3 separate regions of the Homo sapiens genome follow, and all the other regions are linked to region 2. The links are contacts of gene promoters, found by promoter capture Hi-C in blood cells and fetal thymus (Javierre and others, 2016). All regions are on one chromosome and are shown on one strand. The core of a region is centred on a gene start or on the middle of the fragment in contact, and the rest is flanking DNA. Distances in the headings are between cores, read along the strand shown. Region 1 has its middle 13 kb from the start of MATN4. Region 2 holds the start of UBE2C (ubiquitin conjugating enzyme E2 C). Region 3 holds the start of SDC4 (syndecan 4).

Region 1 (4,263 bases), core at 196-2,695, 490 kb before region 2:
CCAAACTACTCTAGGTAGAACTAGCTATATAATTTGTGGGCCCCAGTGCAAAATGGCCCGTTGTTCAAAAATTATTCAAGAATTTCAATTCGACTGAACACGGGATTAAAAAAAAAAAAAGAACTTCAAGACAGCCACAGGAAATGATGAAACCAAGTGCAGGGGCCTTCCAAGCACAGGCTGCACAACCACGAAGCCAGCCCTGGCCCCAGGCTTTTTTCTTGTATTCCCACAGACCCTCAATGGGACCATATCGACTGCCTGCTTTGGATCAAAGGTTTTACCTACATGCCCATTGTCTCCTCTAGGCTGCCATCTTCATGGGGAAAGGAGCTCTTATCTCTGCATGTCCTAAAGGGTGCATCACAATGCCTCGCATGTTGAGTTGGTGCTCAATAAACAGTGAATTGCATTATATGGCATTGGCAGATATTTAGATATTGCTAATGCAAAGTGAAACCGGCAGGTGGCACTGTTCTCCACCCGAGCATTAAGTTCTCATTTTATTTATATTTAAAAACCGGGCCTTAATCCCAGCCCTTTGGTAGGCCGAGGCGCAAGGATCACTTAAGCCCAGGAGTTCGAGACCACCCTGGGCAACATAACAAGACCCCCTCCCCCATCTCTACAAAAAAATGTAAAAATAGGGCCGGGCGCAGTGGCTCACGCCTGTAATCCCAGCACTTTGGGAGGCCGAGGCGGGCGGATCACGAGGTCAGGAGATAAGAGACCAACCTGGCTAACCCGGTGAAACCCCGTCTCTACCAAAAAATACAAAAAATTAGCCAGGCGTGGTGGCGGGCGACTGTAGTCCCAGCTACTTGGGAGGCTGAGGCAGGAGAATGGCGTGAACCCGGGAGGCGGAGCTTGCAGTGAGCCGAGATCGTGCCACTGCACTCCAGCCTGGGGGACAGAGTGAGACTCCGTCTCAAAAAAATAAAAAAATAATAATAATAATTAGCCGGTGTGGTGGTGCACGCCTGTAGTCCCAGCTATGGGGTGGGGGCGGGGGGATGCTGAGGAGGGAGGATCACTGGAGCACAGGTAGTGGAAGCTGCAGTGAGCTGTGATTGTGCCACTACACTCCAGCCTGGGTGACAGAGGGAGACCCTTTGGGGGTTTATGCACAGAATTCTACATACTTCCAGGGAATTTCCTAACACTAAAACCCATTTATGGATTAATTTAGTCCTCTTTATATTAGAATCATTTGCCACGCTATAAAAATTAATATACCGGGCCGGGCGCAGTGGCTCACGCCTGTAATCCCAGCACTTTGGGAGGTCGAGGTGGGTGGATCACCTGAGGTCAGGAGTTTGAGACCAGCCTGGCCAACATGGTGAAACCCTGTCTCTACTAAAAATTCAAAACATTAGCCAGGCGTGGTGGCGTGTGCCTGTAATCCCAGCTACTCAGGAGGCTGAGGCAGGAGAATTGCTTGAACCCAGGAGGCAGAGGCTGCAGCGAACTGAGATCACGCCACTGCACTCCAGCCTAGGGTCTCTCCAGCAGAGTGAAACTCCGTCTCAAAAAAAAAAATAATACTAATAATATACCGGCCACGCCATGGAACAATTCTATTAACATCTCTGAGTGTGGAGCTCAGGCATCTGTATTGTTTGAAACCCTCCCATGTGAATCTAGTGAGCAGCCAGGGTTAAGAATCATGGCCCTAGTCAGTATTTCCTCCTCATTTTATAGATGGGGAAACTGAGGCTCCAAGAGAGGAGGCTAAGGTCACAGCAGATGGCAAAGCCTACAATTGATTCAAATCCTGCACTCCTACCACTAAATCTGGGGCTCTGAGTTTCTCTTCATTCTCATTCTACCACGCTGCTGTGTGTAGGTGACATGTGTGTTGCAGAGGGTGGGGATGGGGCATGTAGTGAGGATAAGGCCCAAATCTCCAATTTACCAGCTCTCATGCTGCCTGGTGTTCCACCATTATTAACAAGCTAGTTCCCCAGTAAGTACCGACCTTGGGGTTTCTCTCTCTTTCTTTCTTTCTTTTTTTTTTTTAACTTCTATTAAGTTATAACCACAGCATAGGTAAAATTCTCTGACAGCTTCCCCCTGGGTAGGGCACAGACCTGTGAAGATGGCAAGGGAAAGAGGAAGTGGTTTTAAGGGAAGTGAAACCCATAATACATCTATAAGGTTGTGGCCAGGCATGGTGGCTCACACTTGTAATCCTAGCACTTTGGGAGGCCGAGCCAGGCAGATCACTTCAGATCACTTGAGGTCAGGAGTTCCAGACCAGCCTGGCCAACATGGTAAAACCCCGTCTCTACTAAAAATACAAAAATAGGCTGGGCACGGTGGCTCACACCTGTAATCCCAGCTACTTGGGAGACTGGGACAGAAGAATCGCTTGAACCCAGGAGGCGAAAGTTGCAGTGAGCTGAGATCACGCCACTGCACTCCAGCTTGGGTGACAACAAGACTCTGTCTCAAAAAATAAAAAATACAAAATGTAGCCAGACGTGGTGGCGTGCACCTGTAGTCCCAGCTACTTGGGTGGCTGAGGCACAAGAATCGCTTGCACCTAGGAGGCAGAGGTTGCAGTGAGCCGAGATTGTGCCACTGCACTCCAGCCTGGGCAACAGAGCGAGACTGTCTAAAAAAAGAAAAACAAACAAACAAAACCATCTATAAGGTTTTGCCACAGACCAGCTCAGAACAGCCTCCTAGACAGGCTTGGCCCTGTTCCAGACCCTAAGGGACAAAGGCAGGCAGGGTAGCAGTGGCACAATAATGCATTTAGAGGGCAAAGTGATAAACCCCCACTACAGCTGGCTGCTTGCCACCAGATGGGCACTTTCACCTTTGCTATCTAATGTAAACTAATCATAAACCTTGTGGCATCCCATCATATTTACAGGTCCTCAAGGAGAGAGAATTATACAGGTTGTATATATAGGGCAGAAATCTTGCAGGCCATCTTAGAATTCTGTCTACTCCCCAAACAACATAGCAAATCATAAGTAGGGGAGATGTGTTTCACTTGTAGGCCTTCCCACACCCCATGCAGGCATTGTCCCATGGTTTTGCTACCTCTGAAGATTGGCAAGATCATGAACAAAAAGTGGGCCCATGCCTGGCTTCTGTAATGTAGTGGTTATCACATTCGCCTCACACATGAAAGGTCACCAGTTTGAGACCGGGCCAAAACACGAGATTTTCCCCCTAAATTTAGTGAGTTTAATCGAGGTTGGAAACAAACAGAAAACTAGTTAAACCTGTGCCTACATTTTGGCCGGGTGTGGTGGCTCATGCCTGTAATCCCAACACTTTGGGAGGCCGAGGTGGGCGGATCGCATGAGATCAGGAGTTTGAGACCAGCCTGGACAACATGGTGAAACCCTGTCTCTACTAAAAATACAAAAATTAGCCAGGCATTGTGGCACATGCCTGTAATCTCAGCTACTTGGGAGGCTGAGGCAGGAGAATCACTTGAACCTGGGAGGCAGAGATAGCAGTGAGCTGAGATCATACCATGGCACTCCAGCCTGGGCGACAGAGTGAGACTCCACCTCAAAAAATTAAAAAACAAAAAGTGGACCAATAGTGTCCAAAATCCATTTTGCATCCACTGCCCAATTCTCAGAAATATTATATATTATCAGAAATAACCAGAGTTGGCTCTCCAGACAGATAAAGCCCTAGTCGAGGTTGACCACTGATGGGGCTATGTCTGCCAGCATTTAGGATGGCTTCCAATGAGTCTTGTATCCAGGTGCTCCTGCCCCTGGGTGGTCTCCTGTCACAATGAATAGGGCTGACCCATGTGACCCATGCAATATTATGGAAGAGATAGTGGGTGACTTCCAAGCTAAGTCATAAAAGTCACTGTAGCTTCCACTTGGTGGCTCTCTTGGATCGCTTGTTCTGAGAGAAACCAGCTGCCGCATCACGAGGACTGTCAATCAGCTCTATGTGGGTCCACGCAATGAGGAACTGAGGCCTCCTGCCAAAATAGCCAGCACCAAGTTGTCAGAAATGTAACTGAGCCATCTTGGAAGTGGATCCTCCAGCCCAGTCAAGCTTTCAGATGACAGCAAGACCTGGCCAACGTCGACTGCAACCTCACAAGATGGAGCCAGAATCGCCCAGCTAATGCTCCTGACTTCTGACTCACAGAAACAATGTGAGATAATATTTATGTTGTTATAAGCCCCTAAGTTTGGGGGTAATTTTAAATATCAATAGATAATATGGGGGTCTTCTTTTTTTTTTTTTCTTTTTGAGATGGAGTCTCGCTCT
Region 2 (4,322 bases), core at 719-3,218:
CCCATCCATGAAGCATCTACTGTAGTAAAAGATTGTCTCAAGGAACCATTCCCATCCCTCCCCACTTACTCTTCCGTACTAAATTGTAAACCGCATCCCCCGCTTCCACCTAGTAGCAGGCCTTACATTAAACAGATGTTTAATGAAGTGTTACTGAGTTGGAGTGAAATGAATCAGGCAATGACCACTCTCCCTTGCTCCTGCCTCAGGCCTACCTCCTCATCGAGGAGGACATCCGGGACCTTGCGGCCAGTGATGATTACAGGTAAAACCAGTGGGTCTCCTGCCCCTTCTCCTCTCCCTGCCTCCAAATAGCCCCTAGAATGAGGCAGGGCCTACATCCTCACTTCCCCCAACTTCTCTCTTCAATGTCTGTTCCAGAGGATGCCTGGATCTGAAGCTAGAGGAATTGAAATCCTTTGTCCTACCCTCCTGGATGGTGGAGAAGATGAGAAAGTATATGGAGACACTACGGACAGAGAATGAGCATCGTGCTGTTGAAGCACCTCCACAGACCTGAGGCCGGGTCCCCTGGCCACACTTGGCAGCCCTCCTCCAAAGCCCTCTTCCTCACGTGGCTGAGGCCACCGCTGGGACTGCTCCTAGATGGATCTCAGCGGCATTAAGCTGTGCCTGAGCGAGTTTGTAGTGACTCACTGCACAGCACCCCCAGACTAGCATGTGGTTCTATATTTGTAAAGTTATTGGGATAAGAAACAATTAAACAGTTTGTAGTAAACACAGATGGTGAACCTGCTGTGCCCTCTACCTTGTGGGAATTGACAGAACATCAAGGGCTCTAGAAGTGGGTGTAGGAAAAAAGGACGAGATAACCCTCACCCATAACAGTATAGAGCCAGGCTTGATAAGACCAACCTGGGAGCACCATGTACCCTGCCCGTCTTCCCTTTGCCCATTTGTAGTTTCCTTACCCAGCTAATGTAAGGACATGGCAGAATGCGATGGAGTTTGATGACAGATCATATGAAAAATAGAGTTGGCTTTTATTGCTCCCATTTTACAGGTTAAGATACTAAAGGACCCGCCCCAAGGTTACACACTACCCACTGGGGAGGTAGGATATACAGGATATGAACCTGTGTTGTTGGGGTTTTTGTTTGTTTGAAGACAGTCTTGCTCTGTTGCCCAGGCTAGAGTGCAGCCTCTGGCTCAAGCGATTCTCCCGCCTCAGCCTCGCCAGTAGCTGGGACTACAGGCTCGTGCCACCTCACCAGCCTTTTTTTTTTTTCTTTTCTTTTTTTTTTTTTTTCTTTTAAGTAGAGACAGGTCTCCCTATCCTGTTGCTCAGGCTGGTCTCGAACTCCTGGGTTCAAGTGATCCTCCTGCCTGGGCCTTCCAAAGTGTTCGGGATTACGGACGTGAGCCACTGCGACCAGCCTGAACCAATGTTGCCTTTTTTTATTTCTGTCATCTCTGCGGAGATGTATGGACCTATGTTTTCTAATAGGGAGCCTGCTGCTCTGGCCATCAGCCTTTAGTTTTTCCCCTCGCTGGGATTTTCAGATACTTAGGACGCAGCAAAGGTGCCCAGGCGATTATAATGGTGGGAGGGTACCAGTGCTGCAGGATTGGAGGCACTCCCTGCCCGAGGGAAATTGGATCAAGGCTGGGCGTGCCGAGTGTTCCCACGCGGAGTAAGACGTGTAGCCAGAAGGAGGGGTTCATCCCACGTGGACGTTTTCTTGGCCCTTTAATGGTTAGCGTTTTCCAACGGCCACCAATTCGCTACGGATTCGTTAGTTAATGGCAGCATCATCTACCAATCGGTTGTCAGAAGCGGGATTCTGCCGCCCAATAGCGGTGCGCCAGTGGGTAGGTCTAGCAGTGGCGCAGCAATAGAGCGCTCCGGAGCGTCTCATTGGCTGGATCAAACCCAAGCGAGCCATTGATTGGTCGACGCCCCCAGAGGGTTACAATTCAAACGCGGGCGGGCGGGCCCGCAGTCCTGCAGTTGCAGTCGTGTTCTCCGAGTTCCTGTCTCTCTGCCAACGCCGCCCGGATGGCTTCCCAAAACCGCGACCCAGCCGCCACTAGCGTCGCCGCCGCCCGTAAAGGAGCTGAGCCGAGCGGGGGCGCCGCCCGGGGTCCGGTGGGCAAAAGGTGAGTGATGCGGCCTACCACTCGCCGGGCCTGCCATGCCCTAGGCATTGGTACCCAGAGCAAAGATTTCTAGGACCACCCCCCGCCGCCACCTCCTGGAGCGGGAGATCTGCGGGTGCAGGAGAACACACCAGGAGCTCGGGGCCTGGCATTCCCCTGGGCATGGGTGTCGAGGGCGGAGACTTCCGGGACTCCCACCTCCTTGCGCGGGTGAGATTCGAGAGATGGGGGACAGGCCAGGAGCTCAGACCGCTCTTTGAGACTCTCCCGAAGGAGAATGGGAGGGTAGGGGCGCTGCCAGACTCCTTCCCTGGTGGGCCTAGATGAAGACGCTCAAGGACCCTCGTGACTTGGCCGAGACAGGGGAAGGGAGAAGTTGAGTCGGGCAAGGAAGAGATGCTAAAGCCTGGGGAATTAAGAACATGCCAGAATCATCCCGAGGGAGTCTGGAATTAGGGAGGGTGAGGACTCGCTAGGATCGTCCTGTGGATCTGGTGAGTATACCCTGAGCTGAGCCTGACCTTGGTGATGTGGGGAGCCTCCATGACGGCTCCCCCTGAGATTCAGGTGGGAGAAGATGCACCGTCTGGAGGCCTGGCCCATCCAGACTCCCAGGTAACCCCGAATACTCTTTTTTCAGGCTACAGCAGGAGCTGATGACCCTCATGGTGAGTGATTAAGTGCCCAGAACCCCAGCCTTCCATCCAATTTTCAGTAGCCTCCTTTTTTCCGTCAGCTTTTTTGCTAGACATAGGGGTAATGTAATTTGCTCCCTCCTGGGAAAGAAGTTCATACACCCCACCTACACCATTTCTTCCAGCAGTCCCTCCTCCCAATTCCATCCCCCCACACGAAGTTATCTCGAACACTTCCCTGAAGTCATACAAGACCCTCCCTATCCAGTGTGTCCCTACTTCCTAGCCCCAACCAAGCTTTACCCACACCCAACTCCCCGCCCTTCTTGGTATTTCTAGCCTATGAATTTGGTTGCTTTATTTTGGATCAGAGTGATGAGATTAAGGGGAGGCTGGGCGCGGTAGCTCACACCTTATAATCCCAACACTTTGGGGGGCTAAGGTGGGCGGATCACTTGAGGTCAGGAGTTCGAGACCAGCCTGGCCAACATTGCAAAACCCTGTCTCTACTAAAAATACAAAAATTATCCAGGCATGGTGGTGCATGCCTGTAATTTCAGCTACTCGGGAGGCTGAGGCACAAGAATCATTTGAACCGTGGAGACAGAGGTTGCGGTGAGCCGAGCGCACCACTGCACTCTAGCCTGGGCGACAGAGTGTGTGTGTGTGTCTGTCTCTGTCTATCTCTCTCTCTCAATCTCTCTCTCTCTCTCTCTATATATATATATATGTAAATATATATTTTTTAGTAGAGATGGCATAACCCCATCTATATCTCATATATATACACATATATATGTGTGTGTGTATACATATATATGTGTGTGTGTGTATGTGAGCATATATATATATATATATATATATATATAAAATTAAGGGGAAAGCTCACCCACTGACCTTTGCTATGCCCAAAAGTGTACTCCACATTCCAACAAATGTGTTTTCTCCCCAGATGTCTGGCGATAAAGGGATTTCTGCCTTCCCTGAATCAGACAACCTTTTCAAATGGGTAGGGACCATCCATGGAGCAGCTGGAACAGTAAGTGTAGGGCTGGGATGGGTGAGTGAGTCTGGGGAAAGGTGGGAAGTGAGATCCAAGTGCGAGCTCTGCTTCAAGCCTTTGGCGGAGCAAGACACTCCTCCTGTGACTGTTTACATTCTCTGAGCCATGTGGCCTTGTTCTTTCCCTCTGTGCAATAAAGGGTGGGTTTAAAGCAGGGCTGCCTATCTTAGATGTTTACATGGGGGGACAGACAGCAAGGAAATGGATGAAGTGAGGACTTTGGCCAATAGGGCCAGATCTCAAGAAGGCAGCTTCCCATTGCTGCAGATCAGGTTTAAGATGAGTCAGAAGTCCAAATCTGTGCCAAATCTAATTTTTACGTATTAGCAACTAATATTCTTTTTTTTTTTTTTTTGAGACGGAGTCTCGCTCTGTCGCCCAGGCCAGACTGCGGACTGCAGTGGCGCAATCTCGGCTCACTGCAAGCTCCGCTTCCCGGGTTCACGCCATTCTCCTGCCTCAGCCTCCGAGTAGCTGGGACTACAGGCGCCCGCCACCACGCC
Region 3 (3,970 bases), core at 1,167-3,666, 460 kb before region 2:
ACCATTTTACCTCTCACATTTGGGAAGTGGGCATAATAGAATCCCCATGTGACAGGTCTTTTTGTGAGGACAAAATGCACCAGATCTGTCATATAAAAAGTACTCTATCACTCCTAACTGCTATTAGCAAAGTCCTTCTCCCTGGGCCTCACTTTTCTCTACCTGCAAAAAGAAAAGGACACGCTGGATCATCTCTTCAGTCCGAGCCAACCGTGACTATGTCTGATTTTTCCAACCACAATCTAGAAAAGAGGGAGGGGACAGGCCAAAGGGGAAGCCCTGTGCCCCAGTTACAGGCAGGAGGTCTGTGACATTAGCCAGGAAGGGGAGAGCTGAGGTCAGGATGAGACTTGACACCTATCTCAGGAAGCAGCTGCCCAGGGCTGATGTCTCCTGCAGCTGATGGGTCACCCAGGCAGGACTGACACAGTCCCCTTCCCCCAAACTACATCCTTCAGAATGCCCCCAGGACACAGCTGACTGCTCAGCACCCTGAAGCACCTGAAGGCTCAGCAGCCCCTGGGAGGAAACTGGCATGTGACTGGGCACACGGTGACCTCAGCAACCTCCTGGGTCCTTTCCTCTTTTTCCCTGTACTGCCTAGGTGGTATCCCTTCGGATGCTTCCCCAGTTGCTTGACCCGACACATCCTTCAGGGCCTAGTTTAGAGCACTGTGCTAGAGGCAGAAGGCTTGGGTCCTCAGCCACTAACATTTTAGGCAAGGTAGCCTTTGGTTTAGGTTAAGTCATCACCTCACTCTGGCCTTGTTTCCTTCCACCTCAGAATTCCTTTGCCTTCCAGCCTAAAATCTCAACCTATTCTAAACCCGTCTTTAGTTACCAACGATGGGACACCTGGAGTAGCACAAAGAGTAGAAGTTAAGCTAAAGCAGAAACTTGAAAGCCTGGCTGCCTAAATTTCAATCTGACTCACCCATTTATTGTGTATTAACTGTGTGACCCTGGGCAAGTTACTTAACCTCTCTAGCCTCAGGACCAGTTTAAGAACAGTACACAGTAAGATTGTTGTTGGAATTAAGCTCCTGGATATACCCATTAGAAAGTTATTAGAGCAATGTCTGGCCCCCCGACAAAGGCGCTCCACGTTTGCAATCATCATGGCATGCCTGGAATTGTGCTGGAAGTATTGCCTAGGGTCTCATTCATTCCTCAAGAAGAGCCTGCAGGCAGAATCAACCTTCCGCTAAGTAAATTCAGAGGAACAGGAGCCCCAAGGCTTTCAAAGAAATTAACATTAATGGTTAAACTGCAAGGACTCACTCGCTCTGAAAACTGGGGCTAAAGGGCACAAAGGGGGCACAAAGCTCAGGCTGTGGGGGACAGATTGCCTTCACCAGTAATTCCCATGCCCCCCAACTTCCCAGATGAGATTGCCCCCCTCCTCCTAAGCCGGCTGCGGGCATGGATAGAGCTTCTGCTGGCCCAGGGACAGCTATGACGGAGGCCAGTGGACAGTGAGAAGGAAAGGTTTCCCTGGGCTGATTGAGGCCTTCTCTCCCCCCTACCCCCTTCACCTCACTCAAGGTGGATGCTTCAATTTTCTTATCTGCAATTGAGAAAAAATGAACACACTTCTTGCAGAAAGCAGAGGCTCAGCTCCTGGCTAAGTGTTGAGTCTAAACCATTCCTCTCCTCTGTCCTCGAAAAGAGCAGAGTCCCCAACTTTCTAGAAACCCTAACGCAGTGTCCCCTCTTGCCCCATTCCCTCAGACCCTTGGTGCAGTATTGGGAAGAGATTCAGAAGGGCAGGACTTTGCCCTAAGTCACAAGTCAATGACAGAGCTGGGGCCAGAACTGAGGTTAGGGCTCAGTTCTCCTTGGTGTGTGAAAGAGGGCCTCGCACAACCCTAAAACCCTCCCCCTTCCGAGTACACGCAGCCCCCCGACCCCCAGGGCCATCTCGGATCCTAAAGCTGTCTGCTCTGGGCGCCCCGAGAGCGAGGAGGGGATTCAGCGCTCCAAGCCTGCCCCAGGGTCACCAGGGAAGGGACGAGGGTGTGGGAGTTGAAGAGTTGACACCGGCTTAGTCACTAACGAGCCCGTAGCCCGCGGCGGGGCTGAGGCCCGGGGAGGCGGGAAGAGCAACAGGCGAGGGGCGCACGGCGCGTGAAGCCATCCCGGAGGCTGGCCCGTGACCCCGGAGCAAAGTTTCCAACAAAGTTTCCCGGGCCTCGGTGTCCGGTTGGGGGTAGCGTACCCCCGATCTGCCCCCCCCCATCCCACGCTCCGACGAACAAAGGAGGCACCGGCCTGCGCCCCCGCTTCGCCCCCAGCCCGGGAACCTCCAAGCACCCACCGACTCGGCGACTCCGCCTACGAAGAACAGCAGCAGCGCGAACAGACGGGCGGGGGCCATGGCACCGCGGACTGGAGAAGGCGCGCAGGCTGCGGCGAGTGGCCCCGGGCGGGCGCGCCACCCATCTTATAGGCGGCCTACCGGCCCCGCCCCGGCCCGCCCCCGCCCCGCCGCCCGCACCCCGCCCGGAATTCCCCAGTGGAAGCGAGGCCTGCGGGGCACTGCGCCCGCCCGCGGAGTTGGAAACCCCAAGGGACCCGCCCTGCCCGAGCCCGCCGGCTCCTACTCAACCCCTAGTCCTACCCTCCGGGAGCTCCAACTCCCTTTATTTATTTGACCCACTGCCAGGCAGGTCCCCAGAGATCACTGCGGCTAACCCCATTTTATAGTTGGGGAAACTAAGGCCCAGGGACGGGAAGGACTTCCCTAGGGTGTTGAGTTTAGACCAGCCTTCATACCGGGTGTGCTCCCCTCTGAAGACACAGAACTTCCCAAATGGGATGTGAACCGTGTTAAGACAGGGGACAGCAAACTATTCTGTAAAGGGCTAAATATTTTAGGTTTTGCGGGCCATACGATCCCTGTGGCAACTATTCAAACTCGAGCGTCGTAGCTCAAAAGCAGCCATAAATACTAAAGGAATGAGGGCAGCTAGGTCCTAATAAAACATTATTTATAGACACCGACATTTGAATTTAATATAATTTTCATGTGTCACGAAATATTATTATTCTTTTGACTTTATTCCCAACCATTTAAACATGCAAAAATCGGCTGGGCTCTATGGCTCACGCCTGTAATCCCAGCACTTTGGGAGGCCGAGGAATAGGAGGATCCCTTGAGCCCAGGAATTGGAGACCAGCCTGGGCAACCATAATGAGACCCCCATCTCTACAAAAAGTTTTTAAAGAAATTAACCAGGCATTGTGGTGCACCCCTGTGGCCCAGCTACTCTGGAGGCTGAGGTGGGAGGACTGCTTGAGCCAGAGAGGTGAAAGTTGCAGTGAGCCATGATCGCTCACTGCACTCCAGCCTGGGTGACCGAGTGAGACCCTGTCTCAAAAATAAATAAATAAATAAATAAATAAATAAATAAATAAATAAATGACATTTTATAATAAAAATGCAGGCCGGATGCAGTGAGTCATGCCTGTAATCCCAGCACTTTGGGAGGCTGAGGCGGCGGATCACTTGAGCTCAGGAGTTTGAGACCAGCCTGGCCAACATGCTGAAACCCCGTCTCTACAAAATACAAAAATTATCCAGGCATGGTTGCCTGCGCCTGTAATCCCAACTGCTCTGGAGGCTGAGGCAGGAGAATCGTTTGAACCCGAGGGGCGGAGGTTGCAGTGAACTGAGATCTCCCCACTGCACTCCAGCCTGGGCAACAGAGCAAAACTCCGTCTCAAAAAAATAAAAAATAAAAATGCAAAAACCATTCTTAGCAGTGGGCTGAACAAAAATAGGCGGTGGGCCTCAGCCACTCTGAGACCACTCTGACGCTGGTCTCAGAGTGGCTGACGTCTGTTCTAAGGGCTTCATCTACCAGATTTTGAACTTTTTCAAAAGTTTGATCTCTCTGAGAACTGGTCTGCAAGTTTATTTCCATTCTTAGGGTAAGCTTCCACCCTTTATAAGAGAAAGTTGTGTGTC

What was found. The method cuts DNA at HindIII sites, captures the fragments that hold promoters and counts their contacts. A CHiCAGO score of 5 or more calls a contact.
Region 1: a fragment that was not itself captured here is called in contact with the fragment with the promoter of UBE2C in region 2 in 2 of 17 cell types (M0 macrophages and M1 macrophages); the score reaches 6.2 in M0 macrophages.
Region 3: a contact is called between the fragment with the promoter of SDC4 here and the fragment with the promoter of UBE2C in region 2, in 10 of 17 cell types (erythroblasts, M2 macrophages, M0 macrophages and 7 more). The highest score is 13.7, in erythroblasts.

What each region holds. Positions count from the first base shown.
Region 1 is chr20:45,319,261-45,323,523 of GRCh38, forward strand. It overlaps the pseudogene TRV-CAC14-1. Among named protein-coding and RNA genes, the nearest start is that of MATN4, 13 kb to the left of the region's middle. RefSeq lists an enhancer at 2,021-2,070. The HindIII fragment of the contact is 5,194 bases long and covers 1-4,042 here.
Region 2 is chr20:45,810,676-45,814,997 of GRCh38, forward strand. UBE2C (ubiquitin conjugating enzyme E2 C) reads left to right here and starts at 1,969. Exons shown (of 6, transcript NM_007019.4): 1 at 1,969-2,121; 2 at 2,762-2,789; 3 at 3,709-3,795. The coding sequence starts at 2,021. DNTTIP1 (deoxynucleotidyltransferase terminal interacting protein 1) reads left to right here. Exons shown (of 13, transcript NM_052951.3): 12 at 210-265; 13 at 382-743. The coding sequence ends at 520. RefSeq lists a silencer at 1,772-1,961. The HindIII fragment of the contact is 3,801 bases long and covers 1-3,051 here.
Region 3 is chr20:45,346,008-45,349,977 of GRCh38, forward strand. SDC4 (syndecan 4) reads right to left here and starts at 2,417. Exons shown (of 5, transcript NM_002999.4): 1 at 2,318-2,417. The coding sequence starts at 2,377. The HindIII fragment of the contact is 6,082 bases long and covers 1-3,936 here.